Regions from separate parts of the Homo sapiens genome. Here regions 1 and 2 are each linked to region 3. The links are contacts of gene promoters, found by promoter capture Hi-C in blood cells and fetal thymus (Javierre and others, 2016). All regions are on one chromosome and are shown on one strand. Each heading gives the region's core, a stretch centred on a gene start or on the middle of the fragment in contact. The rest is flanking DNA. Distances are from core to core; before and after follow the strand shown. Region 1 has its middle 99 kb from the start of SEC16B. Region 2 has its middle 67 kb from the start of LINC01741. Region 3 holds the start of BRINP2 (BMP/retinoic acid inducible neural specific 2).

The links. Contacts are between HindIII fragments. The CHiCAGO score rates a contact against its expected background, and 5 or more counts as called.
Region 1: a fragment that was not itself captured here is called in contact with the fragment with the promoter of BRINP2 in region 3 in 1 of 17 cell types (endothelial precursors); the score reaches 5.4 in endothelial precursors.
Region 2: a contact is called between a fragment that was not itself captured here and the fragment with the promoter of BRINP2 in region 3, in 1 of 17 cell types (endothelial precursors). The highest score is 6.3, in endothelial precursors.

The regions. Positions count from the first base shown.
Region 1 is chr1:177,869,393-177,873,362 of GRCh38, forward strand. No RefSeq gene overlaps it. Among named protein-coding and RNA genes, the nearest start is that of SEC16B, 99 kb to the right of the region's middle. The HindIII fragment of the contact is 515 bases long and covers 2,181-2,695 here.
Region 2 is chr1:177,765,289-177,769,364 of GRCh38, forward strand. No RefSeq gene overlaps it. Among named protein-coding and RNA genes, the nearest start is that of LINC01741, 67 kb to the left of the region's middle. The HindIII fragment of the contact is 848 bases long and covers 1,676-2,523 here.
Region 3 is chr1:177,169,258-177,173,166 of GRCh38, forward strand. BRINP2 (BMP/retinoic acid inducible neural specific 2) reads left to right here and starts at 1,701. Exons shown (of 8, transcript NM_021165.4): 1 at 1,701-2,475. RefSeq lists enhancers at 1,339-1,928, 1,929-2,517. The HindIII fragment of the contact is 5,424 bases long and covers 1-3,568 here.

The sequences.
Region 1 (3,970 bases), core at 1,188-3,687, 700 kb after region 3:
AGTTTGCAAGTATTTTCTCCCATTCTATAGGTTGTCTGTTTACTCTGTTAATAATTTATTTTGCTATGCAGCTCTTTAATTAGGTCTGCATTTGTCAATTTTTGTTTTTGTTGCGATCACTGTTGAAGACTTAGTCACAAATTCTTTCCTAAGACTAATGTCCAGAATAGTATTTCCTAGGTTTTTTCCTAGGATTTTTATAGTTTGAGGTCTTACATTTAAATCTTTAATCCATCTTGAGTGAATTTTTGTTTAATGGTGAAAGGTAGTGTTCCAGTCTGAAACAGATTCTTCCTCACAGACCTCAGAAGGAAGCAACCCTGCGAATACCTTGATTTTGGACTTCTAACCTTCAGAACTGTGACGAAATAAATTTTTTGTTGTTTAAGCCAAGTTTAAACATGCTTTGTGGTATTTTGTTAGGGCATTGCTGGCAAATTAATACTCATTCCTTAAAGGTACATATGAATACGTATGTAAGAGTAAATAAGGGTTTGTAAGTTGTTTTCCCCAGCATCTAGCAGAAAGCTTGGTACATAGTAAGTGCTTAATAAACACGTGTTAAATGGCTGAATAGATGAATACATATCTGGTATGGTGGATCATATTCCCAGCAAGACATGCCAGAGGAGAGGTGCTTGAGACCTCTGCTAAGGAGAAAGACATGGCTGACAGTGAGAATCATCCAAAGATGGGACTGGCTATCTATCTGTAATCAACATCCAGGCAAGTGTTTGCCACTGTGGTGAAGAGGAAGTCCTTGGAGCCCCAGTTGGCAGGAGGTACAGCCATACTCAGAAGGCCTACTGGCACCCATATCTGTGACTTCTGTGTCTGGGGGCAGGCACTCTCATCATACTGGACTAGGGTCAGGCTCACTCCCTGGTGAAGGAAGCTGGCAAGAATAAGTAGTGTCCCCGTAGGTGAATGGATCTGGGTAGCCAACGGGGTGTGCAAAGAGAATCTCAGAATAGCAACATGGAAGGCCAGGGGGATGTGGCTCAGGACCTCAGGCACAGGCTTTCTGAAGGTACACTGACACCTGGGAAATGATGTGAGGGTTCAGGGGTCAGCGTAACACAAGGTTCCCCATCTTAAGCCCATCCAATTGGGAGAGGAGGAATTCGAGGCCTCTCCCCAAAAAGGAATAGATATGAGGGCTAGGCTGGCAGAGGAGCCAGGGCCATCCAGTAGAGAGGGGTCTGGGGCCAACGGAAGCAGAAGGATGAGAAAGGAGGCCTCAACACAGGGTGGGTGGAGGAGGAAGAGTTAAGGTGATAATTCTATAGCAGAAAAGAAGAAGGGAGAAAAAAGGATTTTTGTAATTGAACTATTCTAATTGACTGCTGACTCCACACTGTTCAGATCCACCAGGTAATTGCTCAAGTCTCCATTTCATTTCATCTGTGTAGCTGTAGCTATAGCAGTTAGTTGGGGGTGGGGAGGGAGGGTTTAAGAAGTGATTAGGGGAAATCACTCCTTGCAGGCCTTAGGTTATTCTTGTTAAAAATGATGCCAGGAAAATCATAATTAAAATGGGAACATGGTTAATAACAAGAGCCCCTTTCCTTGAATGTGAAATAAATTTTAACAGCTACCTCAGCTAAAGAACCCAACACATTCGACCTTCCAATAAGGGTTAGCAGAGTTTTCTATCAGAGAGAAATAGAAACTATAAATCAAATGTTTCATATCTAAAGTCCAAGCCAGCTCCCATGAGTAAACTTCCACTCTCCAACAGCTTGTATTTTTTCACTGGCTATTAGACTACCTTGACTCTGGAACTATATGGATACTGTTTCTTCATCTTAAATCTATGAAACTACCTTCAAGAGCTATAGTCTTGACTACTCATGACATACTATCCGAGATAAAGAAGCTGGTCAATAATAAATGTGCCTGTGTGTGATATTCTATCAAGTGCGTGTGGTTGAAATGGAGTTGTTGGAAGGAAAGAGAGTAGGGGGGTGGGGAGAGTCGAGGAAAAATTCTATAGAGTGGGGGCAGGTGGCAGGAAGCATGTTTAAATGTTGGTTTAAATTCATTTTAGAGAAGGGTTGATGTTGATAATCAGATTCTCCTGATTCAAGCACAGTGAAAATTTACCTCTCCTGAGCCTGGATTTTCCCTGGTCTCCCCAAATTTACTATGGGGCCCAACAACATCCCTGACTGAGAGAAAGCTTTGGTCTCGAAGGAGACAGGCTGCTTATAGAAACTTCAGGTCTATTTTTCTGGGATGCTGTTAGCTAACTAGAAGTGTGCTCAGGGCTATTTGGCTGACTGATACCCTCTTTCTGTTGAAAATGTAAGAGAATTCTTCCTTAGCAGTTTGGTTCAAGGCAAAATAAAATATGCTCCCGTGGTCACAGTCACGCTCCACAAACTCCCCAGAGACTCTTTGATTATCTTAATGGTCCTGCTGTAGACCGGCAGTGAGATCTCAGGGTGTGGTGCAGTCAGTGCCTCTGTGGGGAGCCGGATCTCTGGGGAGCACTGAGGCCTTTGCAGCAGGCAATTGAGTCCTGCTGACCCAGCCCAGCACCTTCCATGAGATAAGGTCTAGGGGCCCCAGGATCCCTCAGTACCCTCCCCTTCTCTCACACCCTCCCCTGGGTACCTCGTTTCAGGCTATGGGAGACTTCAAATCATAGCAATTAAGTAGATGAAAGTGCAGCATCTATTTCAGTTATTAAAGCTTACCTCCTTCCTAGGCAGCCACCCTTCCAGCTGCCATCGCTGGCCCTGTGCTGCGCTATCCAGTCCAAGCTCACAGAGGTCTCTTGGAAAATGACCTTGGAAATCTGAAAACATGACTGACACATTTCCACACCCATTCAGGCCAGACCTGTGGTTTATCTCTGGCCAAGTACACATCAAGTCTTCTAGCAGATGCCACCAGCCTTCCCATCTACAAATGCCTTCCCCCAGTGATTCTCACTCCTAGATTCCATTAGAATCACCTGGGGAGTGTTTCAAAGGAAAATTACCAACACCCAGGCCCCGCCTCAGAGATTCTGGTTCAATTGGTCTGGAGTGAGGTCCAGCCTGGCAGCCTCATGTTTCAAAAGCTCCCCAGGTGATTCTCACCTGCCGCCAAGGTAGACTATTGGGTCCTAATCCAAGTCCTCCGGGTTTTTCTCCACAAGGATAGATGACGGTTCCGAGTTAATACCTCACAACGTTGGTCTCACTTATTGCTTGTTTTTCTGATAAATTCTCAGAGGGGATACCTAAGTTCAGAATCTGAAGGTCATTGAGGTTATCCTCAATGTACCAACTAGAATAAACACCGTCTATTTATTCAGATTGAGCAAATATTTGCTGAATGCCTATTATGGACCAGACGCTGTGCTGGGAACTAAGACGTGAGCATGTACATCAAACATTTCCTCCACGTATTTTGTGCTCCCTTCTGCCCCTTCAGATTTGGAAACTTGGTTTCCTGTTTCAAATTCAATCTCTCTCTCTCCCTCTTTTTTTCCCTCTCTCTGCTCCATCTCAACTTTTATATATGATGCATGTACCCAAATACATATACTTATAAATCTTACAGATCTTGTGCAGCAGTAGCTAATCTCCTACACATTCCTAAGGCTCAGTGTAATTAGAATATGAGAAAGCACTCATCCTGCGTATGAACACACCTCATGCTCTCTTCTTTCATGATTTTTATCTCCTAATCAAGTTTCTATTATATTTGCCTCGGGACTTAACTACCGTTAAATATTCAAGAAACGCAAATAAAAGACTTTTTCTACTCTCTCTGCTCTGTGCTTTCAAGTGTTTAATTTCCTGACCCAACTGTCAGGAAAAACACAATCCTGAAACTCCACAACCAGATTTCATAACTCTTGTGTATGCCTGAACCCTTGAGGGAAAGGGAAGAAAATCCTGCCACGGCAAACGAGAGCCTGAAAGACCAAAGATCTGGGACCACAGGAGTGGCCCTAATTCATCATTAGTCACCC
Region 2 (4,076 bases), core at 850-3,349, 600 kb after region 3:
ACCAAACACCGCATATTCTCACTCATAGGTGGGAATTGAACAATGAGAACACATGGACACAGGAAGGGGAACATCACACTCTGGGGACTGTTGTGGGGTGGGGGAAGGGGGGAGGGATGGCATTGGGAGATATACCTAATGCTAGATGACGAGTTAGCGGGTGCAGCGCACCAGCATGTCACATGTATACATATGTAACTAACCTGCACATTGTGCACATGTACCCTAAAACTTGAAGTATAATAATAATAATAAAAAGAAAAAGAAAAACAGTTAACAGAGTCACCCATTGGAACATAAATCCATCCCAGATTAAATTAATTTTATAAAACAGTCTGACAAAGACTTTGAAAGAATTATGTTTAGAAAACTCCAAGAGACTAATAAGGCACAGTTTCTATTTTAAAAGGGCAAGAAATTATGAAACTACAGAAACTGAGTGGAAATGAAGAGGTCCCAATTTAAAACCTTATAAATGAGAGAGATCATTAAATTTAAATTTCACATAATGGTATAAACACTAACATGGACATTCAAAAGGATGATTCATATATGAAAACTTGTATTAAGAAATTCACTCAGAATATATCACAGAGAAAATACACATTAAAAGGCAGTTAAGAAACAGAGAATAGAATGAAAGATTTCTAATAAAACGGGAGATGTTCCAGAAGAGAATAGAAAACTAAGAATTTTCCAAAATTTAATAATGCAAGAGTCATCAAATCAAGACTATTCTCTGACTACTAAGCAGGAAAAAGAAATTCAAATCCACATCTGACACTCCTGGTGAACCTGCAGACCATCAAGAAGAAAAGGGACAGAAAAGGGAGAAAAAAGCTTAAAAGCTTCCAGAAAGAAAAGCCAGATTGCCTTAAAAATTAAAAACTGGCATTTCAAATGACTGTAGATTTCCCACCACCAGCATAGAAGACAGATGACAATGGAGTTATGTCTTTTAAATGCTAAGGAAAAATAAATGTCAACCTAGAATTATAGAGCCTGTTAAAATACTGTTCAATACTGACAAAATAAAGGTAATTTTCCATTGCAAAAAGACAAAGTAAAAGATATGCAAAAGGATGTACTTCAACAAGAAGAAAAGTGAATTCAGAGAGTAAACATGGAATGCCAGAAATAAGATTTGAGAACAGAAAAGTATTGAAATCAATAAATTTAATTAGCTATTGACATAAAAGTTGACAACTTTTGTATGTTTAAAGAATGAATAAAGCTAAACTTTAGACAATAACAAGAAGCTATGCAAGAGTTATGCTCAGTGGATAAAGGGCACTAGGTCCACATTCAGAAGAAGGATAAAACTACTTAACAATTTGAACTTACAAATATTTATAATGGAGTGTGAATTTTTTAAAGGGTAGGGGAAGCTATCAATAAAAGAATAGTGCTACAATCTTTATCTTCCAAACCAGCAGGGAAAATCTAAGAAGTTGATGGTAGGAATATAGAAAATTTATCAATCAACAGAAGGCAAGAAGGAAAAAAGATAAAAGAAGCAAGGGACAAGGATGATAAAAACACAAAACAAAAATATCAAAATAAGTCCAAATATCTCATGGTGTGTATACAGATTAAAATTTCAATAAAACATCAGAGAATATCAGATTGGAATTTGTTTTAAATATGATTATTATCACTTAAAGCAGACACCTAAAGCTTTATACCTAAAGCAAAACACCCAAAAATTAAAAATAAAGAGCATGCCACTTAGGAAAACAATTTATGAATAGTAAAACGAAGACGACCAAAATTCTCACTTTTTGGTAATATACCACAGAATAGTGCATTTAAAACTGCATGCGGTGACCCATAGAATCGTGAATTGATTTAGTGAATCACAACCAGCATTTTTTAATTGAAAAGAAATGCAATATTAAAAGAAATAAATAGAATAGGATAAGTCAGAATAGACGGAATATAACAGATATCAGAGTTCTTCATGGATATAGAAGTATCGTTTCAGTAAACTTTCATTTGTGGGATATGTGTGTGTGTGCACATGCAAAAGTTGCAGTGCAAAATGCATTTCTATCTTTTTTAGTGTGAGAAACCCTAGTGTAGAGAAGCTCTTGCAAGTGTACATAAGGAAACATGTACAGGGATGTTCACTGCAGTTATTATCTGTAATCAGAAAAAATTGTAAACATGTTCACCAACAGGAGAATGGACAAATTCCTTGAGGTAAATATGAAGACAATGAAATACTATACAACAAGGAAAGTAAATAAACCTTCATGTGTCAACATGGATAAATCTCCAAAACAAAATATTGCATGAATAAAAGCAAGATGCAAAAAGATATATACCATATGATAAAAATTTATACAAAGTTTGGAAGCAAGCAAAAGACTACTTTATATTCTTACAAATACACACAGAGAATATGTAGAGTAATGGCATAAAAACCTGTAGGGGACGATAAATATAAAATTCAGGAGGATCATTAACTCTTGAGAATGCAGGGTGGGTAGTGGGTATGAAGTCAAGGAGGGCTACATAAGAAGCTTCAACTAAATCTACAATGTTTTATCAACCAAAAAAATGGAAGTAAATTTGGGGGAAATGTTAAAATTTGTTAAGGCTGGGAGAAGGCTATATGGATGTTAATAATTTACTTCTTATATTTTTGTATATATTTGAATATGTTTATGGCCAAAAATTATAAAGTTTCAAAATCTGTAATTTTAGTCCCTGGGCTCATCACACGGTCTGGCACAAGCTTCCACCCTCCCCAGTTCTCATGCATGGCTCATCAATATTCCGTACATTGACCCACTATCTTACTCCTAAGCAAGCAGACATTTCCAGGCTCATGTCAGGCAAAAGAAAATTCCCTAGCCAGAACTGTGACTCTCACAAATTTATTTTTACCTGCAGCCAAAGCAAGGTTAGAACTCAGCTCTCTGTAAGAAAAGGCCACCACATTAGCCCTGAGTGACAATAGAGTTTCCATTATGCTTCTGATGAGCAGAAGATGAATGTATAGCTTTATTCCACCTAATGAACATTTCAATCTTCTAATAAACACCCTAATAAAGAAAAATGGAGACTTAACTCACTTTTATTATCACAACTGACATGTCGAAAGGTCTTAATTGGTCTGAAAACAACTTCCAATAATAATACCCTCCTTAATTGATTCATTAACAGGGCCCCTACTGAGACAGAAGTGCTAGTTCGGGAAAAGGAATGAAATACAGCTGATTTCCCACTGAGTGGCTATGATCCCTTGGCCATCAACTCTCCAGGCCACTGAAGAGGGTATCAGGGTGTCCAATACCTGGAATCATTCTTCTAGTGGGCACAGACATGAAGCAGTATCGCCACACACTCACCATTCCCTTAGTAGCGTAACAAAAGACAGATAGAATCTCAAGGAATTCTCTCTTAGTATGAGATGAATCTGCAAATAAACAACCAGGCAAGAGGATACCCTGATAGCAAGAGATTAAAGCTTTTTATGAGATTGAACAAAAATTACCACCTCCCAGCATGGTTGGACAGGGAAAAGAGAAGCAGGTATAGCAGAGGGAAGACTTATGAGGAATCAGTGAAAATCATCTCTTTGCAGGAAAGGATGCCTTGGCGTATAGATAATATAGTTATCCAGTGTAGTTTTTAAGGGCATGGGATTTGATGTTAGCTAGACCTAAAAGAATGTCATTTTCTGCCACTTACTAGCTCTGTCACCTTGGGCAGTTTACCTAACCCATCTAAATCCAATTTCCTTGGCTATAAAGTAGGAAAAATAAACTACTATTCTGCCACAGCCAGAATTAATCAGATCTTCTCAATCTTTTCCTCAAAACCCTCCAATGACTCCATTGCATTCCCACTCAATCCACCCCCACCTGACCTCTCTGACCTCATCTCCTACTCCACTCCCCCATTCCCTCCACAGTCTTCCCCTACCCCTGCTTCTCCTCAAAGCACTCAGCATGCTCCCATGCACTGGCTGTGCTCTTACCTCCACCTCTCTGCATGGCTCACCTCTTCATGTCTTTGATCCAACATCACCTTCTTCATGACCACTCTACCTACCCTGTGCTTACTCC
Region 3 (3,909 bases), core at 451-2,950:
GGGTCTCTGCCTCTAGAAATCACAAAAGTAAATAACTCAGCAGTTGGGTAGCAATAGATTTAGGCTCTCAGTGGTTCTCTTGGTTATTTTATTCTAGAAAGAGAGCTCAGGACCCTGTGGGACCACCATTCTCTGACATGTTTTGTAGCTTAGGCAAACAGATACTTGCAGTATGCAGAAGGAAGTTCAACGTTGTATAAGATACAGAGAAGAAAATATAGGTGAAAGTGATAGATGTGTGAGTCTGAGGGGATGAATGAAGAAAATTTCTAATTTTTCTTTATTCATTCAGAACTTACGGCTACTTGATGCAGTTTAGCTAATCTCCATGTGTACTTCTTACACATTCATTAAATCTCTACATACTTTTTTTTTCTAGTTCTTTACAAAATAATCTCCGATGTTGCTCTCCATTTAAGGAAACTAAATTGAAAGACTCCTCTCGCTTTCTGACTATATATTTATCTTCTTCATACTTCCCCCACCACATGACTTAGCATGGATCTCCCAAGTTCCTTCCCCAGCTCCAGCCCCCAGCTCTTCCCTTGAATTGGATTTTTCTTCAACTATTACTCTTTTTCCTATGCTCCTGCCAAAATCTAGTTTAGTATGCTAGTTAGCGGGACATGTTTCAGTTTTGTACCCTCATTAGGATATCAAAAATATATACTTCACACTTCAATGTAAAGTTAATATTTTCTTCCCTTCTCCTTTCCTCCCTTTTCCCTCCACCTCCCTCCCTTTTTTCCTCCCTCCCTCTCTTTCAATTCACAGGCCCAGCAACAGCACCTGCTTCACAGAAACAAGGCTGGTCCTGTTCTGATTTCTCTAGTCTTCCTTTAAAAACTAAACGGAGATGCACAGTCCCTCTTCCTGACACACACAGAAGTGAAAGGAGACACACAGAGGGAAAACACCACAGGCAAAACAATTCCCTTTTTTGGAGGGACATTTTTGAAACTTAATCTCTCCCCAGAAACCTGAAGTTCTCCTCTTTGCCTTTGTCCTTACAGTCCTGGTGTGGGGGCAGAATGTTTCCTGATTTAGCTGTCCTGGCCTCTAAATCTGTTTCACTCTCTAGCCATCTTACTGGGTTCTTGCTCTCTTTTGCCTCTCTCTCCTCTTGGGTCTCTGGGGTGTGTGTGTGTGTGTGTGTGTGTGTGTGTGTGTGTACTATTTCTCACTTGGGGGCTCATTTCTAATTAAGTAATCCAAGAGGCTAAAAAATGCACAAAACAACCAAATGAAACCTCAAATTAGATGGAAAATGGCTCAGATGGGTCCCAATCTCTGGGAGTTCTAGTTAAGCAAGCAAACAAAATGGGCTGGGATAAATGATTATTGTAACTCAGGAAGATTAGAAGAAAATGTAATTAGCTCCCCAGCTACTTCTTGTTCCCCAGCCTTTTTAAGAGTGTCCAACGCCCCACCCGTGAATGTACCCAAGGCTTCCTTATACACACCAAAAAGTCCCCACTGCAACGCTGGGAGGGTTAACAGAGCTGGTACCCCAGCCTGCCAGCTCACCAAAGGAGAGAGCGGTGAGGCTCAGAGCCCGCCCCCTGCCAAGCCGCCCAGCCAATGGGCACCTGTGGGGAGTGTGGCGCTGTGTCCCATTGGCTGCCAACCTACATGCATAAGAAAGAAAGAGAGAGGCAGGCAGGGCAGCATTGTTATCTTAAGACACTCATCTGGTGTCTGAGTCTGCAGGTGACACTGCTTAGGTACGGAGCGCGGAGTCGGAGCGGGGACGCGCCGGGCTGCAGCTCTGGGATGCAATCCGCCTGCCTCGCAAGCTGCTCGCCGCTGCGCTGGCAGCGCTTACGCTGAGCTCGGAGGATCCCATTAGGACTTGCCCGGGGATGTGCACCTGCCGTGCGCTCCGAGGTCAGTGGCAGGTCTGCAGGCAGCCGAGGGAGCGGTGAAGCCGGAAGACCTGTCTCTGCCCATGTGCAAGGCAGTGATTTCGGGTGAGAGAGCGGGTGGGTGAGTCTCTTTAGAGTTGGAAAGAAGGCAAAATCTTGGGTTTCTCCTCGGCGGAGGGACAGGGGACTCCCCCAGTTGGGTCTTGCACTTCCCTTACCTCTCCCACCCCGCGTGCGCCCCGGCCCAGTGCCGAAGCCCCACTTCAAAGATGCTCTGGGAGACCGGGATCCTGGCTGCTCAGCGGGAAGGCAGCAGGCAAGTGGTCTAACGTTGGCGGCGGTGGCGGTGGCGGCGGCGGCGGCACCGACAGTAAAGCGGGGAGCAAGAGAATTTGAAAAGAGACATCCGCTCCCTCTCACACGCTGAGGGGGAGGCATTCGCGTTTCCCCAAATGAGAAAGAACCACAAGAAATCATGAAGTAAAAACTTTGGAAAGCTGCCACTGGAGATGTTGCACAAAAACCTGGAATCTTTTAGGAGTCTCCTCCCAGTCGTTGAAGGTTTGGGGAGCAGCTGATACAGCAAGGAGGGCTCTTGCAAGGATTCAAGGTAACAGTGCAGGGTTTCGGTGATTTTTCTCCCCTTTTCATTGTCCTTTTTGGTGTGTCCGTTGGTAAAGGGACCATTTTGCTCTCATACAACCCTCTTGCCCTGGTGCCTGGCAGTGGCAGGCAGAGGGAATGATGCCACCTCTCCTAGTTTCTGTCTTGTGGAGTTGAGCAATGGACTTTGGGGTTGAGCTAGAGATTGCTCTGGTATTGCCTCCTGGTGTTGCATGGCTGTCAGAGGGTTTGGGCTCCCTGCCTGACCTATATTGCTTTTGCCTGGTTTAAGTCCTCAAAGTTAGTGCAACTCCTATTAGCTTCAGAAAATTCAATAGGGCTGCATAATTGCAGAAGATGACGAGGACTTTTGCCTGCCCAGCTGACGCTGGGAGGTTCATTATGTTTGGGAAGGAGCCCAAAGAGCTGAGGTTACAATGCACGATATCTATATTATCGTGCTCATAGAGCCCTATGGCATGTTTCCCATGCACATGCAGTCAGGAAAATAAAATTCCAAACAGTGAACCCTGTAGGTTGCAAATAGTCTCCCCAGGGTGGTGGCAGAAGCCCCATTGATTGACTTGAGCCTGGCAGAGCACTGGAGACACTAGGGAAGAACATTGCTGTGCTGAAAGGTGGGATGTGCTGGTATCATCTAGCAGATCTCTGTCTCTGTTTTTGTGATCATCTGGGTACACTGTCGAATGCTGCCTGTGGTGTGTGTATGTATGTGTGCTTGTGCTCACAGCTGTATGCAGGAAACAGGCTGCCCACAGAAGAACCAAGCATGTCCAGCACCCTGTCCAAATCACGGATGCCTGGAGTGTTCCTGCCTAGTAGGAACACGAACTTGTGAGCTGTTGTTCCAGCCCAGAGGACTCTTCTCCTCACCAAGCAGTCCCTCTGCATGGTACATATTTATCCAGGGTATATAGACCTAAGCCAAATGTTAACCAATGTTCAAGCTAATGCACTGTAATGTGATTGAACAGACCCCTCTGTAAAGAATTGTGTGTGTGCTCTTTGCAGCCCTAGGAGCAGGGTGCTATGAGCAGAAACAAATGTTTTGTTAAAAGGATAACAATTATAAAAGGTCAAGCTTATAGTTGGGTAATCTAGGCCTTATTCAGCAGGGACATTGTTATGTCAGCATAGACCAATCAGAGGGATAAAAGGTATATTATAAGTCAAGTATTTCTGCTTCTGTCCTTCTCCAGACATGTGCATGTTGAAGTGACTCTCTCTGACCATGCTCGCTAAAATACATGCAATGCCAGTATTAACCAAGCAACTAAAGTATACCAAATCCCCCGGGGGGCAGTCTGATGACATCAGGCAACAGCAAAGTGATGCTGGAGTTTGTGTGCTTTCCCTCCTGACTCACACAGTTGTGTGTATGTTATTTGTTTAAGGCATGACCCTCTGGAGTCCCCCTTCA